Regions from separate parts of the Homo sapiens genome. Here region 2 is linked to region 1. The links are contacts of gene promoters, found by promoter capture Hi-C in human tissues and cell types (Jung and others, 2019). All regions are on one chromosome and are shown on one strand. Each heading gives the region's core, a stretch centred on a gene start or on the middle of the fragment in contact. The rest is flanking DNA. Distances are from core to core; before and after follow the strand shown.

What was found. The method cuts DNA at HindIII sites, captures the fragments that hold promoters and counts their contacts. A contact is called where the count stands out against the background at its distance.
Region 2: a fragment that was not itself captured here is called in contact with the fragment with the promoter of SPTBN2 in region 1 in 2 of the 25 tissues and cell types used here (heart left ventricle and mesenchymal stem cells).

The regions. Positions count from the first base shown.
Region 1 is chr11:66,724,747-66,731,798 of GRCh38, reverse strand. SPTBN2 (spectrin beta, non-erythrocytic 2) reads left to right here and starts at 2,583. Exons shown (of 38, transcript NM_006946.4): 1 at 2,583-3,058. The HindIII fragment of the contact is 42,487 bases long and covers 1-7,052 here.
Region 2 is chr11:67,024,434-67,031,431 of GRCh38, reverse strand. It overlaps SYT12 (synaptotagmin 12), which reads right to left. Exons shown (of 8, transcript NM_177963.4): 2 at 1,254-1,310. The coding sequence starts at 1,287. Among named protein-coding and RNA genes, the nearest start is that of SYT12, 4.8 kb to the right of the region's middle. RefSeq lists enhancers at 3,586-3,655, 6,866-6,998. The HindIII fragment of the contact is 5,223 bases long and covers 1,983-6,998 here.

The DNA.
Region 1 (7,052 bases), core at 1,334-3,833:
TTTTTGCATAAATATTTGATTGAGCAGGGGCGAGGAAGTGAAGCCAATGAGTGCAAATGACTCAGGAAGACTGTGAACATAAAGAGCAAGGGGAATGCATGGAGGGAAGTCGGGGCTTCTTGATTATTTTTTAAGCTGGCAAATGCTTGAGCATGTTTAAATGCTGATGGGAAGGAACCAGCTGAGAGACAGCAGTGAGGGCCGTGAGGCTGCAGAAGGGGATGAGACTTAGCATAGGAGCCAGAAGAATCCATCTTAGGTGAAAAGAGGGACACCTCTTCCCTGGTATTGAAACAAGAACTGAGAATTCGGCTATGTATGTATGTTTGGTGGGCAGAGCCAAAACCTTTCCATGAATCTTGGTAATGTAAGCAGCAAATGTGGATTCACTGAGAAGCTCAACAAACTTGGTGGATATCATTCCATTCGCTTTTGCAACTCAAATAAGAAGGAACCAGATATTTTCTTCATCATTGACTGTACTGGTTCACTACAGAGCAAAATAACAAGTTTCCAAAGCAACCCAGTCACAGAGCTGAGATAGGTGATCTCAGTGTTCTCTTTATTCAATGTGCTTCCTCTCCAAATCGGGAAACAGTATGGGAAATAATACGGTAAAATCATAACGGCTGATACTGATTAAGTGCTTACTATGTGCTGCATATAATTCATTTACCTGCAATAATTCATTTGATGTTCCCCACATTATGGTGCCATTTTACATGTAAGGAAACTGAATCCTAGGGAGGTAACTTGCCCAAGGTCACATAGTCAGTGGGTGGCAGAACTATGTTTTAAACCCAAGGAGTCTGACTCCAAAATCAATGCTTTTAACCATTCTGCTATACTCCCTGTCTAGCAGAGAGGAAAGAACATATTAGGATTCAGAAGACCTGGAGTTTCTACCATGAACTAATTCTGTGAACTTGTACATTCACTTAGGTGTCTGAACATCAGTCTGTTCATCAATAGAATAAGAATGAGAATGTTTATCTTACAAGGCTTCTTGAAGGATTATGAAATGCTGAAAATAGGAAATTATAAAAGATATTATTTTGCTAATCATAAGACTTAATACCCTTGACTTCTAATTGGGTCACGATATTATAGGCTGTCATTGAGACCCTTAGTTCCCGTAACCAGTACAGCAGCAGCAGCTTGGTGGTTCCAGTTCCTTTGGCAGGGCAGCTGATTCTCTAATTTTTTTTTTTTTTTTTGGAGATGGAGTCTCGTTCTTGTTGCCCAGGCTGAAGTGCAGTGGCACAATCTCAGCTCACTGCAACCTCTGCCTCCCGGGTTCAAGCGATTCTCCTGCCTCAGCCTCCTGAGTAGCTGGGATTTCATGCCCACCACCACGCCTGGCTAATTTGTGTATTTTTAGTAGAGAAGGGGTTTCACCATGTTGGCCAGGCTGGTCTTGAACTCCTGACCTCGCGATCCACCTGCCTCGGCCTCCCAAAGTGCTGGGATTACAAGGGTGAGCCACTGCGCCTGGCCATGGGCAGCTGATTCTCATCCCATCAGCTTTAATGTCCCTGACCAAGTGTCCCTGATGACCGTCATGCACAGGTTGGTGCCTCCTTCCCCCGAACCAACCAACACATAATCCTACCTCTGGGAAGAGTTGCAGTTTATGCCCTTGTTTCTTTAATGCCATTGCCTGAAAGAGTGGCTATTAAAAATAATAAATAGCCTCAGGCCTGGCACGGCAGCTCACGTCTGTAATCCCAGCACTTTGGGAGGCTGAGGCAGGCAGATCACCTGAGGTCAGGAGTTCAAGAACAGCCTGGCCAACATGGCAAAACTCTGACTCTACTAAAGATACAAAAATTAGTCGGGCATGGTGGCATGCACCTGTAATCCCAGCTACTCGGGAGGCTGAGGCAGGAAAATTGCTTGAACCCGGGAAGAGGAGGTTGCAGTGAGCCGAGATCAAGCCACTGTACTCCAGCCTGGGTGACAGAGCACGACTCCGTCTCAAAATAATAATAATAATAAATAGCCTCAAATGCAGCTAACTGTGAGGTACACACCAGAGAGCCAGTTCCAGTTTCGTGGTAGAAGCACAGATATCAGAGCTAGGAGAGAACTTCAAAGTAATCTTTCAATGGAACTCCCCAACCCTCCTCCCAACCCATTTTATAGACTAGGAAAACCAAGGCGAGGTAGATGACACCACTAGTTAGGGTTGTCAAAACCATATCTGGAAAGTACTTCAATTGCACATATTTGTTTCAGTATGCATACCTTTTCAGAAAGGAGCAAAATCCTAAATTACCCATAAATCTATTATAAAACCTTAAATCCAATAATTCACTCAAAGCCCATTCTTTGAGTGCCCTTACTTGACCATTTCAGGCATTCCCTGGATAGAAACGGGCCCTCATCTTCAGGGGCAGTACATAACCTAACGGCTCTGTACAAAGCTCACCCTGTTACCACTGGCTCATCTCTGAGCTGAGTTCTCTAATCTGGAAGAACAGCACCTACTTCTCAGAGCTGGAGTGGGGGTGGGAGTGTCACATGAGATGATGCGCTTTTAGCACCCACCTGGCACTCTGTGAGTTTGTCATGATTTGGGCATAATTCCTTCCTCTCCTAAGCAGGCAGCAGTTCACCTTGGTTAAGGACCTTGGACCTTAGACCACTCAGACGCTAACAAACCAAGGAGAAACCCAGCCGTGTCAGGCCTAGAAATGTCTGCCCCCACCCCCACCCCCCTCAAGACGGTGACTAGGCCGGAATTCTCCTGGTTGATAAATGAGAGGAGCTGAGAAGCGCTGAGATGCCTGTTTGGAGCATCTGATCTGTAGAAGACGAATCTTCACTGTGCCATGGAGATGTTCTGGGAGGGAGAGCCGGCCCAGCTGCCTGAAGGAGGACGCGAGAGCGAGGGGACGGGTGAGAGGAATGCTTAGCGGAGACGGACTGGAGGTGCCCGGAGAGGAAAGGGGAACGGAGGCTGGATCTCGGGAAACCTCGTCGGCAGTGTCATTAGAGGAAGGATCGCGTGTCTCGGGGATACGGATTTTGGAGGAAAAGCAGAATAGGGACAAAGGTGAGGTGTCCGAACCGGGGAGATCAAGACCTGTAAGCTGTGGTGGGGGACCCAGGGACCAGCGAGGACGGGAAGGCGGGGTTTTGGGGGGACCCCGCACGGAAGGTGGCTGGGGGTCGGCAGCCGGCCTCGGAGCTGCTGCCGCGTTCGCCCCGAGGCAGGTCAACTACCCCGGGCGGGGAGCGGCGGGGAGCACCGAGAGGGGCCTCGGTTGCCATGGCGCTGGGCGGGGAAGGGGCGACTCGGGCCCCGCCCAGAGCCCCGCGGGGCCGCCGGCTCCAGATGGTCCCGGGCCTCCCGCGGGAGCCGGCGGCCTGCGGCAGGGGGAGGCTATTGTCCTCCTTCCGCGGCGCCGCAGTCCCGCCGCTCGCGCCCGCGCGCCGCCGCCACGCGCCCCGCCGCCGCCCGCCCCGCGCGCCCCCCGCGCCGCCTGCGCCCCGTGACAGCGCCCGCCCGCCGCCCGCCGTGCGCCCGGCCGCTGCCTGCAACCGCCCGTCGCGGCCGGGCTGCAGGCGCGGCAACTACCGGTGCGCCCCCGCCCGCCGCGCCCCCGCCCGCCCGGCCGCGGCTCCGCGCCGAGGTAGGTGCCGGCGCCCCGCCCGCTTTGTCCCGGCCCGCGGGGCGGCGCGCTTTGTCCGGCCGCGTGCGGTCGGCGGGGTCGGGGTCGGGGTCGGGGTCGGGTCCCGGCGGCCGGGGTGAGCCGGGGCGGGAGCAGGCGGGGACGGGACGGAGAGGGTCCCGTGCCAGCCACACAGGTACCGGGATGAGGGCGGTGGGGGCCAAGGCCGAGGGGGGGGGACTCGGGCCTCTCTGGAGCCGGGAGAAGAGTCTGGAACAGTTAGGGCTGACGGACACGTTCGCGGCGAGGCTGGGAGCGGGTCTGACAGCGCCGGCCCCTCGCGTCGCCGGGGCTGCGGGGCGGACGGGCCGGCGCCGGGCCAGGTGCTGGGGGCGCGCTCGGCCGCCTCTGCCCGGCGGACTGCGGGAGCCGGGCTCCCTCCTCCCCGGAGCCGCGTGGGCTCCTCCTCGCCTCTTTGGCAGCTGGCTCCACGCGCTCCCTTCTGTTCCCCCACAGTGTGTGGGAGAGGGGCACGCGGTTGGCTGTGGTGGCCGGAACTGGCCCGGGGAGAAAGCAGACGCTTCGGGCGGCGGGGAAGCGGCCGCGTGCGGCGTTTCTGTGGCCAGGAAGCTGATAGGGCTGTGCGGTCCGCCCCGCACGGAACTACCCAGCAAGGCCTGCTCGCGGGGGTGTTCCGGCTCCGGTGCCACAGTCGTGATTTACCTTCCACTCGCTTGGAACTTTACCCCATTGACCCCAGGACATTGCATGCTTGTGTGAGGTGCAGGTTTGCCCCGGTCTTAACCTGCTACATGTCGTCTGCCCTCCCCCTCTCGGAGCAGCCACAGTTCCAACGCTGGAGAGCCCGGGGGTTTCAGGTATGGGCAGAGGTAGCAACAAACCAGTTTTCCTTGAAGGTGAAGAGGGGCAGAGTGAGTTCCAAATATGTGTCTTAGCTTGAGGTGTGGGGCAACCTCTTGGCTTATTCAGAAAGGCAAAGGATTGGCCGAGGAGAAGATAGGATGGAGTTTACATTCTTCCCTTAGAGAAATTGATGTGACCCCGGGTTGGGGAAGGGAGATAGCAAGGGAGTGAAGAATCTGAATATTTGAATAAATCTGCCATAACTGGAGGATTCTAGAAGAGAAAATAAAATTTCAGTCCCCCTCTTCAGCCCAGTTCCTAACTTCCTCCGAGGGAATTGATCAGGAACACAGTCTGAGAGGTGGGTCGGGGTTTTGCTGTTCCTTCCTTCTGCCCTGGGCCCATCTTTCTCTTGCCTTCCTGGAGGCCCTGAGCTGATTTGTGACTTCTTTTTCGTTTTATCTCTCTGCCAGTCCACCCATTTATACTTAGAAGCAAATAAGATTTGAACTTTGCCAAAGTCCCCATTTCTTCTAATCTATTATTCATCTCACTGTCATTTGTTCAACTCTGCCTTCCCGTGACTTCTCTAGCTCTGCCGTTCTCCTCCCGCATATCTGCGGTTCGCTGTGCTGTTTCTTTCATTACCTGTGGTACCTACTCCATCTTCATCTTCCTCTCCCATCGCCTGAGCTCCTGAGGGGAAGTGATATTTGAGTTTAGTGTGGGGTAGGGCCTGAGCAGACCTAGAAGCTAACCCTGGGTCACACTCACCCCTGAAACTTTGTGTCTTCTCAACACTCATGGCTCCTCTAACCAATTCCAGCTGCTTCTCATCTTTGGACAAGGGTGGCCCTCAAAGTGTGGTCCCCAGACCATTAGCTTCAGTGTCACCCGGGAACAGGTTAGAAATGCACATTCCCAGGTACCACCCCAGAAGTACTGAATCGTAAACTGGGGGATGGGGGGGTGACCTGTGATTTAACAGTCCTCCAGGTTGTTGTGATTCATGGAAGTTTGAGAATCCCCAGACCTGAGCTGTTGAGCTCAACCCTGAAAGTATTCCAGCCCAGGAGCAGGTCTTCTCCAATCCCGTGTTCATTCTTTCCTTGAGCTTCTCTCTAGTCCTAAGAAAGACATTAATTCCATGGCCAAAAAAAATGAATTATAGTCAAGTCATTCAATATCTCTTTATTGAATATCTGTTGTACTGAGTCTGGAAAAACACCAAAACGAGTAAGACAGCCCTTGTCCTCAATGAGTTAAATGTGGAGCGGGCAGAGAGACACGTAAACAACTAACCGTAATGCGATGTGATAAGTACAATACTAGCTGCATGCCGAAGTGCCCTGGAAGCACAGAGGAGGGAATGATCAACTCTGAGGGAGGGAAATAATTCATCAGGAGCAGGATGTGGTGAGAGGAAGAATTAGGATACAAGGCAGCCTGTAGCCCAGGGTATAGGATTTCTAGCTTAACATGTCAGCTGAAAGAGAGGAAAACTGCCCTGGAGGATCGGCACGGTGAGCCTAGTCTGCCTCCAGCAGCGCCTGGAGTACATTCCAGCAGGACCCCAAGCCTGCAGCCGGCGGGGGTTGGCATTCTTCTAGCACTAACAGTGTAAGCTACTTGGGCCTGGCCTTGAGGTCAATTGCTAAGAATAAGGTATGATGAGACTGTAATCTGGATTAGCTACTGCACCACCCTATTGCCAGACTTCAGGAATCTGTGGAAGAGAGGACGATTGAGGATTCTCCAGCTTCCTCATGACAGGGGGTCATGAAGCTGGGGGGCTGCTGGCCGACTGAGGAAATGTGAGCATGGAGACCCTGGTCATAGGTGAGGAATGATCTACTCAGTGGCAAGAAACCAGCGCTGGATATGTGTAGGAGAAAAGCAAATAGAAATCAGTGGGAATCTAGAGATGGCAGCAGGGGACACAAGCTGAGAACACAGCATATTGTCCAAAAGGCCAGGGAGCTACAGAGCCAGAATGCTTGGAAACCAAGACCTAGAGACACAAAGGTAGCAGAGCCTCAGAGCCACATGCTGAACAATGCCAGAGAGCACCATTCACATGGAAGGCTGTGGAGTTGCAACATGGTGGCCCTGTGGGGGTCTGTGATCTAAGGACACCAGTGCCAGCTTGGTTCCTGATCCATATCACAGCATTTCTGGAAACTCAGAACACACAGCATGCATGCTTCAAATTCAATTTGGAGAGAGGAGCATTTAAGTGGCTGAGGTTTTATTTGGGGGAAGAGGAGGTTCTAGCTCCATACTTTCTCCTGGTAATGGTAGGAATCCGCAGAGACATTCTAACAGTTGGACTTCCCTGGAGGGTCTGGCTCCCAGTTGGGCCCCTTTGTAACTTTAACAAAACCCCCAATTCTGCATTTCTCCTGAGCCCTACTTCCTACCACCAGGGCTGTGGTCTTGGCAGTCTCTGGTTCTGGAAAGGAAGGAGGTATGGAGAAGAGAGAAGTGATGGGTGGTGAGACTCGGGTAGGTAGGGAGGTGTGTGCCCATGGACACACAAAGGCAGAACCTTTCTGGCTTCCATCATTAACT
Region 2 (6,998 bases), core at 3,345-5,844, 300 kb before region 1:
GGGACGGAGGAGAGATCTGCCTCCAGACAGACTGGGTCCAGATCTGCACCTATAACCCCACCACCAGGTGCCAGGACTCAGGCAGGCAGTGGCAGAGGCAGGGAAGGACTCCAGGACAGGGGAACAGCGTGTGCAAAGCGCTGCCACTGGAAGAGTGGCGTTTGCACCATGCTGGGCGCTGCACAACCATCAGCTCTCTAAATCTTCCCAACAGCCCTGAGGCAAGCCTCATCTTTTGCATTTTACAGATAAGTAAGTAGAAGTTCCGGTTTCACCACTTGCCCAAGGCCATACGGGTAGGGGGCAGGGTGGGGGCAGGGGGGCAAGACCTGTGAGCCTGAGGGTGAAAAGTGCGGCTCCCTGGCTCACTTTTGGGAAAAAGTGATGGGAAAGGTGATTCCCGGGCACACCCTTCAGATCAGCCCTGGGCTCCCCAGGGGCTGCGTTAGGGTAGGGGCTAGAGTGATGGGGAGCACGGGGCTGGGAGTCAGGAGACCTGAGTGCACATCCTGACCCCGTTACTCTCTAAGCCTCACTTCTCCCATCTGTGAATGAGGAGAGGAACAAAGGGAGAAAAGACGGCTGGTATGTTTCTTCTCTGACCCCATCCGCTGTCCATGGGGAGGGCTGCAGGAGTATGTCTGGAGTCTCGAGGCATCTCCCAGCCAGCTCCCATCTCCCTGCTGAGGCAAAGGGTGACAAGGTGGGAGCCATGGCCCTGGACTGGGTGGCCTCTTTTTTTTTCTGATGAGACGGAGTCTCACTCTGTTGCCCAGGCTGGAAAGCTGGAGTGCAGTGGTGTGATCTCAGCTCACTATAACCTCTGCCTCTGGACTGGGTGGTCTCTGAGTTTAACGCCCCATGAATCTAACCTTGACCTTCCTGGGCTTATTTTCCCTTGGCTACTTGACAGTCTCCACAGAAGGCCTCGGTGAGTGGATTCCGAGTCACAGGCTCATCCCCAGGGTGCAGCAGGATGAGGGTCTCCCCGGGGACCCTTTCAAGTGAAAGAGAGAAAGTCACTTTAACAAGAAGGAGCCACTTGAGTGGCAAGATGAGGAGACCTCAGACTGGGCCAAGCTTGATGTCCCCAGGGCGGGCTGTCTGACCTTGGGCAAGTCACTGACTGTCCTTGACAGTGAAGACATTAATGGCAAGGACTAATTATTCATGTCCCACAGACACCTCCCACCCAGGCCTGGTGTAAGGGTCTCGCAGGCGTGATCCAGGAGGGGTTTGCCCTGGGCACTCACCGCTCAGATGGTATTCTGCCACATCCACAGCCATGATGTCTGCTGCAGTGACTGTGACTGGAAGGGAAAAGAGAGTGAGAGGAGAGGGCTGCAGAGAGTCAGCGTCCCGCTCCTAGGTCCTGGCCTCCTGGCACCCACGTGCCTGTCATCCAGAGCTTACACTCAGCTATAAGGGGAGTGCCACCAAAGGGAGGCTTGGCATTTTAAGAAATGATGTTTAAAGCTCTTTTCAAGCATTCTAAGACTCTTCTCAGGATTGCCAGATAAAACACAGGATGCCCAGTGGCATGTGAATTTCAGATTTTGTTTTGTTTTGTTTTGTTTTTTCAGATGGAGTCTCTCTTTGTTGCCCAGGCTAGAGTGCAGTGGCGCGATCTCGGCTCACTGCAGCCTCTGCCCCTGGGTTCAAGTGATCTCCTGCCTCAGCCTCCCAAGTAGCTGGGATGACAGGCATGTGCCACCCCACCCGGCTAATTTTTGTATTTTTTGTAGAGATGCGGTTTCACCATGTTGGCCAGGCTGATATCGAACTCCTGGCCTCAGGTGATCCACCAGCCTTGGTCTCCCAAAGTGCTGAGATTACAGGTGTGAGCCACAGCGCCTGGCCAAATTTCAAATACGTTTTTAATATGTGTGTCCCAAATATTCCACAGGACATATTTACGCCAAAATCTTTTCCATTGTTCATCCAAAACATCAATGCTCCTGGGTGTCCTGTTTTTGTATTTGCCAAATCTGGCAACCCCAGCTCATTTCCATCCTAACAACATCAGGCTGACCAGCGGCGACGCAGTAGGTGACTCATTAGAGCAAGGCCCCCCTGGCTTGAGCCAGAGCCTTCCTTCAAATGCTTCCATTTTGATTGGGAAGGAAAGGCTGCGTGTCTGCAATATTCTATTATCAGTCCTTTCACTGCTTGGCATGGTTTCTTCCCCACCCCATCCTCCACCCCCAGCTTTTAGGAATGACTGAGGCTTAAGTTGTTCTAGAAAGGTCTGGGAGCTCGTACAACCCATTACCTGAACCTAGGTGACTGCTCATTGTTTTATTAGTGTGCTAAGAAGTAAATCTGGCTCACAGATGTGTTCTAAGTGGGTGTATGTGGGAGTCCTGGAAAAAGGAATTTGGGATGGGCTGCACTGATCTCAGGTCAAGGGCACCGAGGGCCAGGATAATGCCCACCCCAATTTCTGGATTCCCTTGTAGTTCAGAGAGGTGGTTACACATGGTAAGCCTGCAGGCCTGGTGCAGGGTGGTAGGGCAAGGGGAAGGGGAGGTAAGAACTGCAGAGTGATGGCCTGGCCCAAGGGCAGCTGCATTTTTGCCCCAGCAGGAATGCCAACCACCGTGGCTTGATCTTCTGGCACTTTAAAGAAAAGCCAGATACCTGAATTTTTTATGTGCCATTTCCTGAGTTTTAAAGGTAGCAACCAATTTGCAAAAAAATGCAAACACCATTCAGACGCAGTATAAAAAGTCCTTGGGGAGTGTGACCCACCAATTCCCAACCCCTCGGAGCATCCTGTAGGTTCCCTTTGGGACTGGGGTCGAATCAGAGGGTAAAGCTAAGGCCCTCCACATTTTCAGGAATTCCGGGGTTCTCCCCAGTCTGTGGCTTTGGAGTCAAGAAGCTTCGGTGCCATGCTCCAGTCAGGGTTATCCAGCACATTTGGGGTGCCATAAGTCCTAGTCTACCCCCTTAAGTCCTGGAGGTGCCCAGGAGCCTCTAGAAGCAGGTCAGATAAGGTGCACAGCCAGCTCCTGGCTTCCAGTTCTCCTGATGCTGCCCCCACTCCCACAAGGAGATGTGCGTTGTCATGGTGATGGAAGGGTGGTGCTAAGCCAGGAAGGGCTTCACCCATCCTGACTAGAGTGGAAGCTCATTCCTGGGCCTGGGCTGGAGATAATGATAGTAATAGAGAACCTTGTCGAGCCCTTCTTACACATCAAGCGCCATTCTAAGCACTTTGCATTTATCTGACCTCATTTAATTTGCCTAACAGCCCCATGAGGTAGGTACTATTATTATCTCTGGTTTGCGGGTGAGAGTCCCAGGGCGTAATTTGCCCCAGGCCACACAGCTAATAAACTGTTCAACCCAGGCCAACTGGCTCCATGCTCCTAACCACTGTGTCTCACTGCAAGTGGGCATATGGTTTCCAAAAAGTTTCCTAAGAATCTGCAGGTCAAATGGGTCACCATGTACCTGCCCAAGGTGGTCCTAGCTCCTGGCGGAAGCTGGTCTGGATACGCTGAAACACATGCTAATGTACACACACGCACCTCCCAGCCTGCTTCTGCCTTGCCGGGAATCAGATAAGCCATCGGCTTTTTCCTGCTTACCTGGCACAAGCTGACTTTGCAAGAGTGGGGCCAAGCTGGGACAGCCAATGCCCGCAGCACGCGAGCAAGGTATGCATGGCAAAGTACACCCCACAGCACAACAGGCGTGGTACGGGACAAAGCCTCAAGCTGCATCTGGCCTCTGGCTGTCGGGGGCCCCATCACCTCCATGGCTGGCCCAGCTCAGACCCCAGACTCCCACGCTGTCTGTTCTTTCCTCTCCCTTTAACACGACATCCTTTCCCAGGGAGCTGAGATTTCAGTGAGGGTGTGAATGACTGCTAGGCACACCCCAGACAGAAGTTCCTTCTTTTTTTTTTTTTTTTTTTTTTTTTTGAGACAGAGCCTCACTGTGTCACCCAGGCTTGAATGCAATGGCGCGATCTCAGCTCACTGCAACCTCTGCCTCCTGGGTTCAAGTGATTCTCCTGCCTCAGCCTCCCAAGTAGCTGGGATTACAGGCATGAGCCACCATGCCCAGCTAGTTTTTGTATTTTCAGTAGAGACGGGGTTTCATCATGTTGGCCAGGATGGTCTTGAACTCCTGACCTCAATGATCCTCCCATCTTGGCCTCCCAAAGTGCTAGGATTACAGGCGTGAGCCACCGCCCCTGGCCTCCAGACATATGTTCCAGCCTGGTGCCCTGTGAAGGCAGAGCTCATTTGCCTGAGTGGAGGGAGAAGAGAACTGGGAGAGAGGTCGAGGCTCCTAGAGGGTGTCATCCTGAGCACAGGGTTTGTAGTCAGCTGCACCCAGCTCTGACTCCCATACCTGCCCCTGGCTAGCTGCAGTGGCCTTGGGTAATTTTCTTAGTCTCTTAGAGCCTCAGTTCCCCACCTGTAAAGCAGATGTGAGGCTGCCAGGAGGGTGGAATGAGAAGGTACGTGTAGTCAGGCTTGGCACATATTGGTTGCTGTGGTTAGCAGCCTGGTGATGGCCCATACAGACCCCCTAACCCCTAGTCTGGGCAGTGTGGGCAGCACTGCCAGCCTACAGATGTGTTTATTTGTCTTACATTTAAGTGAGTTGCCAACATTTTAAAATTGAAAAATTTAGCTGGGTGCAGTGGGTCATGCCTGTAGTCCCAGCTACTGGGGAGGCTGGTGTGGGAGGATCTCTTGAGCCCAGGAGTTCAAAACCAGTCTGGACAACATAGTGAGACTGTGCCTCAAAAAAAAAGTGTGTGTGTGTGCGGGGAGAGTTTCCCATTAAAAATTGATTTAAAAAGGATTTCCAGCTTCCCTTTGAAAATTAGAAGATCTGGCCGGGCGCGGTGGCTCAGGCCTGTAATCCCAGCACTTTGGGAGGCCGAGGCAGGCGGATCACCTGAGTTCGGGAGTTTGAGACCAGCCTGACCCACACGGAGAAACCCCATCTCTGCTAAAAATACAAAATTAGCCGGGCTTGGTGGCACATGCCTGTAATCCCAGCTACTTGGGAAGGCTGAGGCAGAAGAATCGCTTGAACCTAGGAGGTGGAGGTTGCAGTGAGCCAAGATCGCACCACTGCACTCCAGCCTGGGCAACAAGAGCAAAACTCCATCTCAAAAAAAAAGAAAGAAAAGAAAAAAAGAAAGTTAGAAGATATGGGGACAATGGGTTTGCATCCCCCGACTCCAACAGGAGTTGGAGCTAAGTCGGCATTGCCCCTTCCCTGGCTGCTCCCATCCTTCCATTCACTGCTAGAACCTGTTGAGCCCTGGAAGCATCCCTGCTCATAAGCCTGGTAAAGTGGGCTTTGAATGAGCTACTTTTTTTTTTTAATTAATTTATTTTTTTGAGACGGAGTTTCGCTCTTTCACCCAGGCTGGAATGAAGTGGTGTGATCTCACCACGCCCAGCAAAGCTGTGGGAGATTAAGAGAGGTTAAGTGACTTGCCCAAAGCCACACAGCCAGCGGTGGTAGAGCTGGGCCTGGCAGTCATTCCTGTAGCCCAGTCCAGCCCCTCTTCCATTAGCAGTGACAACCCTCATGCCGTCTTCCCCATCACCCGTAAGACCCATGGGGCAAATCCTGTTACTACCCCCTCCTCCACGGAGGAGGAGAGGGAGGCTCAGAGAAGGGCAGTGAATTGGCCCGAGGTCACCCAACCAGTGAGGAGGAAGCTCAGACCAAGCCGCAAGTGCTGCTGTGCAGCCAGTGCCCTTCTCAAGGGCTTTGCTCACTATCCCCGAGACCCCTTGACTCTGTCTCACCTGGGACCACCTCAGTGGGCTCCCGCTGGCAGCCTGGAGGTCTGCCAGGCAGAAGGACTGTGTCTTTGGCTAGAAGAGGATAGCAATGAGGTACAGTGGGACCAGGGCAGCCTGTGACCAGAGCATCCCCGGTGTCCAGACACACAGCAAAGAGCATAACATGGGGGACCAGAGTGGCTCCAGACCCTCACTGAGCTCCCAGACTGCACATCCCTACCTCTGCAGCACCCCTCCCCATCTGACCAATTCGTTCAGTCCCAAATCCCCAGACCCTAAACTGCACAGAGCTTACTCATTGAAAACAGCTCTAGGTTCAAATTCCAGCTCGATCATACCTACCTAGCAATATCTCCTTACTGCTACATGCATGTGGACATAACATGTGCTAAGTGCTTAGCACTGTGCCTGGTTGTAGTAGGTACACAATGTGGACATGATGATTCAGTGGATTAATGGATCCCCCTTTTATAGATGAGGAAGCTGGGGCCCCAGGTCACCTAGCATACAAGTAGCAACACTGGGATTGGTGCCAGGGTGCAATGGATCTGGGCCTGGGCTCTTGGTCACCATGCTGACTCCTGAACAGGCAGGCCTTTTGGGGTGGGGAGTTGGAAGAGCCCCCCACTTCCCCCAGCTTTGCTGGAATCAGACCATGGCAGAGGCCCCTCCTGGGCTTGTCAGAGAATTGGCTTTCCATGAATGTTGTGCCTCGGCGGGGGAGAGGGGCCCTCTGTCCCTGCCTTCTGCTCCACCCCACCTCCTTGCCCAGTGTCCTCACATCATTCTCTGGCTAGCAAGGCAATGGGAAGGGTCGGGAGTTGGGCCCAGGAGAGCCTCATCCTTCAACCTGTGAGCCTCTTCAGGATCTTTAGGTTGAAACCTTTTCAAGTACCCCTCCTCCGCTTTCTGAGATAACCACATCCTGCTGCCATCCCCCAAACAGCCCACAGAAACCGCAGGACAGACTGGCTGGGAGGTGCTGGCTGGCATTTATTGGGCACCTACTGTGTGACTTGCCCTGTGTTATCTCAGCACCGCAGCCCTCTGAGGGGGCTGCTACCCTGCTCCTTGTACTGGAGAGGAAACTGAGGTGCAGTGTGGGCAGCGCTGCCAGCCTACAGATGTGTTTTATTTGTCAGTCAGTCACCAGAGCTGACAAGTGGCAGAGTCCGGGTTTGAAACCCAGGCTGGGAGCCCCCACTCTGC